Regions from separate parts of the Homo sapiens genome. Here region 2 is linked to region 1. The links are contacts of gene promoters, found by promoter capture Hi-C in human tissues and cell types (Jung and others, 2019). All regions are on one chromosome and are shown on one strand. Each heading gives the region's core, a stretch centred on a gene start or on the middle of the fragment in contact. The rest is flanking DNA. Distances are from core to core; before and after follow the strand shown. Region 1 holds the start of CHD7 (chromodomain helicase DNA binding protein 7). Region 2 has its middle 13 kb from the start of LINC01301.

Evidence for each region. The method cuts DNA at HindIII sites, captures the fragments that hold promoters and counts their contacts. A contact is called where the count stands out against the background at its distance.
Region 2: a contact is called between a fragment that was not itself captured here and the fragment with the promoter of CHD7 in region 1, in 1 of the 25 tissues and cell types used here (thymus).

What each region holds. Positions count from the first base shown.
Region 1 is chr8:60,677,426-60,682,064 of GRCh38, reverse strand. CHD7 (chromodomain helicase DNA binding protein 7) reads right to left here and starts at 3,325. Exons shown (of 38, transcript NM_017780.4): 1 at 2,983-3,325. RefSeq lists silencers at 1,848-2,217, 2,878-2,977, 3,338-3,777. The HindIII fragment of the contact is 11,242 bases long and covers 1-4,639 here.
Region 2 is chr8:60,424,520-60,429,490 of GRCh38, reverse strand. No RefSeq gene overlaps it. Among named protein-coding and RNA genes, the nearest start is that of LINC01301, 13 kb to the right of the region's middle. The HindIII fragment of the contact is 5,621 bases long and covers 1-4,176 here.

The DNA.
Region 1 (4,639 bases), core at 2,076-4,575:
GGGTTTTTAAACATCACCGGTACAACCACTCTACCATTCCTGTATTGTGCCTTCCATGTTAAGACATATAAAAGAAAGTAACTTTTTAAAAAAACTAATTTAAAAATAAGGCCATTGATTAAATGAATATAATAATTTAAAATTCATATACCAGTCTTTTAAAATTATAATTCATTTCTTATCTGAAAACTCATTTCAATCGCGAAAGCATAGACCCAGGATACAATTCATCATGGTTCAATTTAGTGACTCGAACAGGAGAAAAAATTAGAAAATATAAAGAGAAAAAAACCCACAGTGCTAGAAAACAATCCCAATTCTTGAGTACCAGCATGAGGAAATTCACCTGTTACAAGCCTGACAAAAATCCATTATGTCCTTTTATCAGCAGATTACCAAAAAAGAGAATGCCATATTTCCACTATTGGGCAAAATAAGAAAATTTAGCTTCTAAAATTTGCTGCTCAAGCCTTTACCCATTTCCAAATTATTTTACTATAACTTTTTTCTACAAGACAGATTTTTCAGGGAAAATAAACTTTTCCTGAGCAAACTGGAAGACATAAAATGTCTCCTACTTATCACCTAGAAAGGCAAACCAAGTCCTACTCCATGCCCCAAGCATCTAGCTTTCAGCCTCTTTATTATCATTGTCAATGAATGGGCCTCAGTCAAATGAAAGCTGCCATTTTAGGGTAAAGACTGGAGGGCTTCTGTTGTGCAACAGCAAGACAAAAACACTGCGCGACAGATGTACTCTGGGGGCTGGGAGAAGGATTCAACTTCGTAAAATCACTGCTCAAGTTATTTCTGAAATAGGAATTACCTTGTACTTAGACATTACTGCAATCTAAATATAATTATAACTGGGATAAATCAGGTAGCCATGCTGCTAAGGTCACAGTCACTAAGATATTTTTTGTCATCGTCAGACAAGATCAGTGAAGAAATAAAGACACGTATTTTGTTTCCTCTTCGATTACTACGTATACTGAGTACTCCCTCCCTTACCGAGAGAGAACTGGGGTGAAATAACACTTAACCCCTTAGAAAGGTATCGCCCACTGCAAAGACGGCTTAAATTAAAATTTTTAGAAAATAAAAAATCAGGGCCTCACAAAATCCTTTAAAAATAAATTAAGACATGTAATGTATTCCAGAAATTAAGCCCCCAAAAGGGACACTTTTTAAGATAAGTTATTTAAATCGATTGCTAGATAATATACAATGGGAAACTAAAAAGTATACTTAGCAAGTGGAGCGCTGGATAGTGTATCTAATTCTAGCAATTCAAAAGGAAACTCTCTCCATGTGGGTTGCTACTTTTCTTTTGTCCATTGTCTGTTCAGAAGAGGGGGAAAAAAACTAGTTTAAACCAAGGCGTGAGCAGTCTCTAAAAGTGACCTCCAGGAAAAGAGTCCGACCCATAGCAGGAGCACTCTCCGCGCCGCTCGCTTCACGGGGGCGCTCACAAAGCGGGCGGCCGGCCGGGAGTTTGGGGTGCGCTCCCACGGCTCCGGGCTCCTCGAGGCAGAGCCATCCGGAGAAAGGCGGCTCGGTAATGATGGCTGCTCGGGGCCGGCGGCTCCTTCCCCAGAGCCTCCCGACCAGCGCCCCCACCCCCGCCCGGGAGCCGCCGCCGCCGCCGCCCCCGCCCCCCCCCCCCGCGACCTCGACAGCCCCGCGCCGCCGCGCCCGCCCCGCACCGCAGCCCAGCCGGTGCCCGCGCCCCCGCCCGAGCCCCGCGCCCCCAGCGAGCCCAATCCCCGGTGCGAACCAAACAAACAACGCGTCCCCCACCGCCCTCCTTTCCTCTCCCCGCTGACCGCTTGGCCTCCAGCCACCTCGGCCGTTCACGCTCCAAGCCGCGGCTCTCTGCGAGGGCAGAGCGCACCCGGGTCACCTCGGGGGCCACCTGGTGACCACCCCCCACCGGCGCTGACCCCCGGCGGGTTGGGGGGCGGGGGAGCCGAGTTGCGTTGGAAGGTTAAAGTCGCTATTATGCAGCTGCCGCCGCCGGCGGCCCGGCCAGCTCGACAAGGTGGGGTCCCCTCCTCGCCGCGCCTCCCGGCGCTCGCCCCGGCCCCGCTCCCTTTCTTCTCCTCCTAGCGCACTTGGGAGCCGCCGGGGAGCCCCAGGAGCCCCCAACTCCGGGCTCGCAACTCCGCGCCCGCGACCGGCACTGGCTGAGCTCGGGACGCCTCCCGCGCCGCGTGTTCGCGCTGCCCCCGCCCCACGCGGCGCCCCGCGCACTTTCCCCGCCGCCGACCCACCTCGCTCGGTGGCGGTCCCCGCGCGGGCTGGCGCCGCCGCGCCGGGAGGAACGCACTTTGTTCGCGCCGGTGCGGCCGCAGCTCCCGGCGAGCGCGGCGTGGTCGGTCCGGAGCGGGGGGCGGGGGCGGGAGGCGGGGGTCGCCGCCGTCCCCGAGCCGCCGCCGCCGCTGCTCAGCCGCCCCGCGCCCGCGCGCCCATCGCCCGCTCGCACTTGAGTTGGAGCCCAACTTTTCCTCCTTCCTTTTTCTCTCGAATGGAGCCGGCAACTCGTGCTCGGCGCCGGCGGGAGGAAACGCGCTCGCGCTCCCCCGCGCGCAGACACGCTCCCTCCTGTCCCCCGTACCCCCCCCCCACGCCGGCAGCACAACAAAAAGCCATTTACATGCGAGGAAGTGACCCTCGGCCGCACCGCGCGCCCCCGCCGCCGCCGGCCCGGCGGACGCAGGCAAAAGTTGGGGCGCCGGGCGGCGCTCGGGGCGCGGGTTCGGGCCCCGCGGGCGGCGACGCCGGCGACACTACGCGGGCGGCGCTGCGCTCCTGCGCTGGCCCCGGCCCCCTCCCGCCCTCGCCCCTCGCCCCTCGCCCCGCACACGCCCAACTCCTCGCTCCCAACTCCTAGCGCGGCCCCGGCCCCGGCCCGGAGCGATTTCCTGCCGCCGCCGCCGCCGCCGCCCCTCCCGGGGGCGCCGGGCGAACTCTCGCGCTCACCGGGTCGGTCGGGCTCCTCCGCTGCCTAGTGCCGAGGGGAAAACAAAACGCAGAGCGGGCTCCGGAGTTGGCTCGGCAGCTGCGGCCAGGGGGCTGAATCCACGGGCACGGAGTTGGCCGGGGGCGAACGGGTCTCTGGTGAGTTTCAGGGTGTCCGGGTCCCCGGGCCGCCTCCTCCGCGGCGCTCCTTTGTGTAATTTCACTCGATTCAAGTTTAATCCGATAGTTCCCGAGCACGAGCGCGTCCGCACCACCACGACTCAACCCCCGCGCCGCCGCCGCCGCCGCCGCTGCCGCCGCCGCCGCCGCCGCCGCCGCGGCCCCAGCACGCCAGCGCCTGCGCGCGTCCGGCACGCCGCGCGCACCCGAAGCCGCGGGGCCGCGCGCGCCCGCCGCCAGCTCCCTCCGGGCCGCGCCGCGCCCGCGCCCGCGCCCGCGCGCCGCCACCTGACGTCAGGCGCGCCTGGCATAATTTATGCAAGAATTCGGCCGGGGTGGCGGAGGCCGAGGGAGAGGCCGAGAGAAAAGGGGCGGCGCGGAGCTGCTGGGCCGCGGGCCGCGGGCCGCAAGGGCGGGCCGGGCGCCACTTCCCGTCCCCTGGCGGGCGCCGGCGCTTCAGGCGGGTCTCCCCGCCGGCCGGTGCGCTGCTGCCGCGGAGTCTTCCTTGCCCGGCTGCACGGAGCGCTCGGCCGCTGCGCCCGGGCGCGGACTGGAGGGGCTGCTGCCACGTCTCCCGCGCGGCACCTTCCCGGAGCCGGGTGCGCCGCCCCGGGGCAGGAAGCGGGGCTCCGGGAGGGCTGCGACCCTCCTGGCTGCCGCGAAGGGTTTCCGACGCTGCGCGGCCGGCGGCGGCCGGGGGTGACTGGCAGTCTCTGCAGTAATTATCCTTCAACTTGAAATTATTTTCCCACATGAAATTATTCGGAAGGGACATGTTCCATTCCAGATGGGTTCGTGCCTGCTTCTCCACATCGCTTTTCCCACCTCTTCGTGGATAGGACACCGGATCCACTACTTAATCAAAAAGTTTAACTAGATGGCATTGATTTTGTCGAATTTGTTACCATACCAAAAAAGAGAGAGAAGGCAGAGAGCTCAATGATTATGAAACAAAGAAATAGGATGTATGCCCATTATTAAACGTGTCGGGACTAGAATGTTTTACTCATTCTTTGGCCAAAATGGCACTTGTATCTGATTGCATAGTCTTAAAAATCCGAGCCTCTTATTCCATTTCTCTTCCCGGTACAAAATGAATGTTAAACCTGAAGAAAAAAAACTTTTTTTTACTAATTTTTATTTTAGGAAATAGATCTACAAACATGGATTAAGCCTCTTCTATCTGCAAAATACGGAGCAATTATAATGTGTTTAAACCATCAATTGTAAACTTTAAGATAATTTTATTAGGTTAAAGATTGCACTTATTTTAAAATCAGGAAAGGAACTCATATCAACCAAAGATTGCCCTATGGCAGGTACAGACTGACTGGTTATTACTGGACTCCAAAATAAACTGAGAAAATAGCAAAACTATGTAAAATGTACTAATCTCACTCACTGATGGTTACACTACCTGTAGTGCTAAGCCTGTAATCACAATATTGTTATTTGGACAAAAGATTAATCAAAACTATCTCATTAAGTAACTACTGCA
Region 2 (4,971 bases), core at 117-2,616, 250 kb after region 1:
ACATAGTTTGTTATCCTCACAGGTCCTAGAGAGATAGAGTCACTGCACACCACAAGAGGGTCACACAGGAAGGGTACCAAAGGAATAAGCTCAGCCAAGCAGTGGGGAGAAGTGAAAGAATGAGGACACTGGGCCAAGTAATTCGGGGTTAGGGTAGAGTATATAAGAAAAGTTGCAAGGTGATTTCACTGGTGTATTTGAATATCACTGGTCGCAGTCTGGGAAGAGCAAGAAGGAGAACTTACGTCTTGCGTCAATATTATCACATAGGCTCATCTGGTTGCCTGGGTGGAATGCTCCCAGTCTATTCATGGAGATGTTGAGGCAGCAGGAAAATATGATGTTTCAAAATTTACAATACACAGGAATTCTTATGATGTTGATTTTGTCCAGGGTGGTGGCCATGGAGAAGGTGTAATGCAGTAGGATTCTAGACATATCTTGAAGATAGATCCAATGGTCTTTCCTGATGAATTGGATGTGGGATGTGAGAGCCAGCACAGACTCAAGGATGACTCTAAGGGTTTAGAACAAAGCAGCTGGAAGGATGGATTTACTGTCAGTGAAAATGGGGAAGGATGTGGAGGAACAGGCTTGAGAGGATATAAGAAAAGTTTTGGATTTTAGATGTCTCATGCATCTAAGCGGAGATTTTGAGTTGGCTGTTGAATATCCGAGTCTGGGTTGTGGGAGAGAGGTCTGGGCCAGAAGTATAAATTTGAGAGCAACCAGTTTAAAGTGATCAACAAGCCTTGAGACTGGGTGAGATCACTAATAGAGTGAGTATCACTAGAGGAGAGATGAGGATCAAAGACTGAGCCTGGGACACATTTTTAGGTAAGATGGTCTGTGCATATGCAACATATATGTACCTGGCTATTATTACCTTTTACATTAGTGGCACTCTATTACCTGCACTGTTTTGTATCTTACTTTTTTTTTCTCACCATAGATCTTATTTTATACTGTTCCATGTTTATGTTATTTTCTTAGGCTCCATGCTCCAGAACCCTCACAAGGTGTAAATTTCAACCACAAGCTTAGGTGAGGGCAGACCTATTGTTTCAAATTATCAGGGAGGGTTTTTTTCCATCAGAGCTTGTGTTAGGATAGACCAGCTTCCTTGTCATCTCCTTGTGTTTGTGGACAGGTTTTTCTAGTCTTTACTTTTCTTGCTGTTGTTGTTGTTGAACATCTTTTCTTTTTGAATTTTTAAAATTTAATTTAATTTAATTTTAAATTCCAGGATGCATGTGCAGGATGTACAGATTTGTTACATAAGTAAATGTGTGCCATGGTGGTTTGCTGCACCTGTCAACCCATCACCTAGGTATTAAGCCCTGCATGCATTAGCTATTTATCTTGATGCTCTCCCTCCCCCCATCCCCCACCTTTACTTTTGCTGAGTTGTAGGAGCCTTCTCCTTTCTCGTGAGCTATTCTGTGCATTCAAGGGATTGTTATACTCCATGCAGTATTTGTGCATAAGGCTTTTCTTTTAAATTTAGTCTTCTGTATAGCCTTAAGTATACCCACTATCCAATCTTTGCTGTGGTCACTGTCGTAGTTCAGGCCCTCTTAATTTATTGTTTTACTACTTCACAAGCCACCTGGCTGAACTCTTTTTGCCAGTCTCTCTTCTTTCATGTTTTCATCAGATGGATTTTTGTGATGCAAATCTGAAGATTCTATTCCCTGGCCTACAGGTTGGTTGTTTTTTTGTTGCGGTTTTTTTTTTTTTTTTTTTTGACTTTCTCTCCCAAGAAAGATAAATCTCAATGTCTTCAGTAGGGGTTGTAAGAGATCTTTGCTTCCTCTTTTATTTAACACTCTCTACCCATGGTTTTGTTCCATTTAACCTAAGTGGTTTTTTTTGTTTTTGTTTTATTTTTGAGGCAGAGTATCACTCTGTCACCCAGGCTGGAGTGCAGTGGTGCAGTCTCAGGTCACTGCAGCCTCTGCCTCCCAGGCTCAAGTGATTCTTGAGCCTCAGCCTCCTGAGTAGCTGGGATTACAGGCCACCACCATACCCAGCTAATTTTTGTATTTTTTAGTAGAGATGGAGTTTCTTCATGTTGGCCAGGCTGGTCTCAAACTCCTGGCCTCAAGTGATCTACCCGCCTCAGCCTCCCAAGGTGCTGGGATTACGGGTGTGAGCCACCATGGCTAGCTGAACCTAAGTGTTTTTTAAACACATTATGCTCTCTTATGCTTTCTTAGCTTTGCTTAGTCTACATTATTATCCTGGAAGGATTTTTCTGCCTAGTTATCACCAGATGGCCTCTAGGACTGGCTTCAAATGCCTTATTCTTTGAAAGGTCTGTTTTCAGAATGGATCAGGATGCTTTCTTTTGGTTTCCAACTCCTTGCTCCATAGTTCCAGTACACACTCTTATTATTATTCTCATTTTTCACATTGTGATGGGAGCTTCCCCATTTAGAAGGAGCAAACCTTGAGACAGGAACTGTCTTCTCATCCCTGGTGCCTAGCACTGAATGTGTCTGGTACATAACACGTACTCAATAAACATTTGTTGAATGATTGGAAATATGGAAACAGGAATGGAATGCATTGTATCTTTGCAGAATTGAAGATTTTGTGTTGATTTAGAAGGTCAAGATGCTAAAAAATATGGAGATTTAAACATGTTTTGAAAAATCCACTTTTTTGTGTTAACACCTAAATGATACCTGTGTGAAATGAGAATTGTTAAATAACAACAGGAAATTGAAATTACTACACTTGTTCAAATCTAGCAAAAATAGAAGCCCATTCAAAACAGAAGAACACTTTATGTATCTTAGGACTACTTATATAAATATAATGTAAAACAAATCTTCAGGGTGCATTAACAGTGGCCAAAAATGATAAAATGATGAAATGGCATTTGCAATTTAGGATGGGAGGGTGATGTGCAAAGCTGAGGCCATCAGGACTGTTGAGATTGTGTGATTTCTTCTGCTTTAACTGACTGTAAGCTCCCTTAGGGCGGGGGTCACATGGGGCTTGATACCTAGCAAGTGCATAATATGTATCATTGAACTAAAATGTTCTTGAGGATACTGTGCGGTTTTTTTTTGTTTTTTTTGTTTTTTTTTGAGACAGAGTCTCACTCTGTTGCCCAGGCTGGAGTGCAGTGGTACAATCTCGGCTCACTGCAACCTCCACCTCCTGGGTTCAAGGGATTTTCCTGCCTCAGCCTCCTGAGTAGCTGGGATTATGGACACCTGCCACCATGTCTGGCTAATTTTTGTATTTTTAGTAGAGACAGGGTTTCACCATGTTGGCCAGGCTGGTCTCGAACTCTTGACCTCAGGTGATTCACCCACCTTGGCCTTTCAAAGTGCTGGGATTACAAGCGTGAGCCACTCTTCACCACCAGCCTACTGTGGGTTATTCTTAAAGAATATGAAATATGTTTTAGCAACAATATCTAAGAAGGGGATTTTTAAATTCTAATTTTTATTTATTATAAAGGTTATGATAATGATATGATGGGAAATATTCTAATGACAAAGAATCAGAAACATTCACATAGCACTTATGTGCGAGTTTTCTAAGCAGTTTTATGTACAATGACTCATTTAATCTGTACACCAACATTACTAGGTAGGTATTATTACTTTTTCTGTTTTACAAACTGAAAAACTGAGGCACAGAGATTAAGTAATATTTGCAACGCCTTACAGCTGGTAAATGGTAGAGCTGGGATTCAAATACATCACACTTTATAAGCAGGTACTTAGATTTTTGTTTAGTGCATTCTAAACACTTTCCCAAAGTGTTACAGATGTCTAAGCATTATAATTTTAAATGACTGCATTACATTCTACTAAGCTGGGCTTAGTAGAATAATCGGCTTGATTGTTTCATAATTGTTGCAATTTGGGTTGTCTTTAATTTTTTTCTATTATGCGTAATACTAAAATGTTCATGTCAATGCACACAGCTTTTTAAAATTTAAGTATGTGGGCAACCCCCTTTGGGTCCCCTCCCATTGTATGGAAGCTCTGTTTTCACTCTATTAAATCTTGCAACTGCACACTCTTCTGGTCCGCGTTTGTTACAGCTCAAGCTGAGCTTTCGCTCACTGTTCACCACTGCTGTTTGCTGCTGTCACAGACCCATCACTGACTTCCACCCCTCGGGATCCGGCAGGGTGTCCACTGCACTCCTGATCCAATGAGGCGCCCATTGCTGCTCCCAATGGGCTAAAGGCTCGCCATTATTCCTGCATGGCTAAGTGCCCGGGTTTGTCCTAATCGAGCTGAACACTAGCTGCTGGGTTCCACAGTTCTCTTCCGTGACCCACAGCTTCTAATAGAGCTATAACCTCATCGCATGGCCCAAGGTTCCATTCCTTGGAATCCATGAGCCCAAGAACTCCAGGTCAGAGAACAAAAGGCTTGCTGCCATCTTGGGAGTGGCCCACCACCATCTTGGGAGCTCTAAGAACAAAGACCCTCCGTTAATATTTGGTGGCCCATACAGGGATTCTCCAAAGTGATGGGAAATATTTCCCCCAAGGCAAAAAAGCTCCTAAGATGTATTCTGGAGAATTGGGACCAATTTGACCCTCAGATGCTAAGAAAGAAGCGGATTATATTCTTCTGCAGTACCGCCTGGCCACAATATCCTCTTCAAGGAGGAGAAAACTGGCCCCCTGAGGGAAGTATAAATTATAACACCATCTTACAGCTAGACCTCTTTTCTAGAAAGGAGGGCAAATGTAGTGAAGTGCCATATGTACCAACTTTCTTTTCATTAAGAGACAACTCAATTATGTAAAAAAGTGTAATTTATGCCCTACAGGAAGCCCTCAGAGTCTACCTCCCTGCCCCAACATTCCCCTGGCTCCTTCCCCAACTAATAAGGACCCCCCTTCAACCCAAATGATCCAAAAAGAGATAGACAAAGGGGTAAACAATGAACCCAAGAATGCCAATATTCCCTGATTATGCCCCCTCCAAG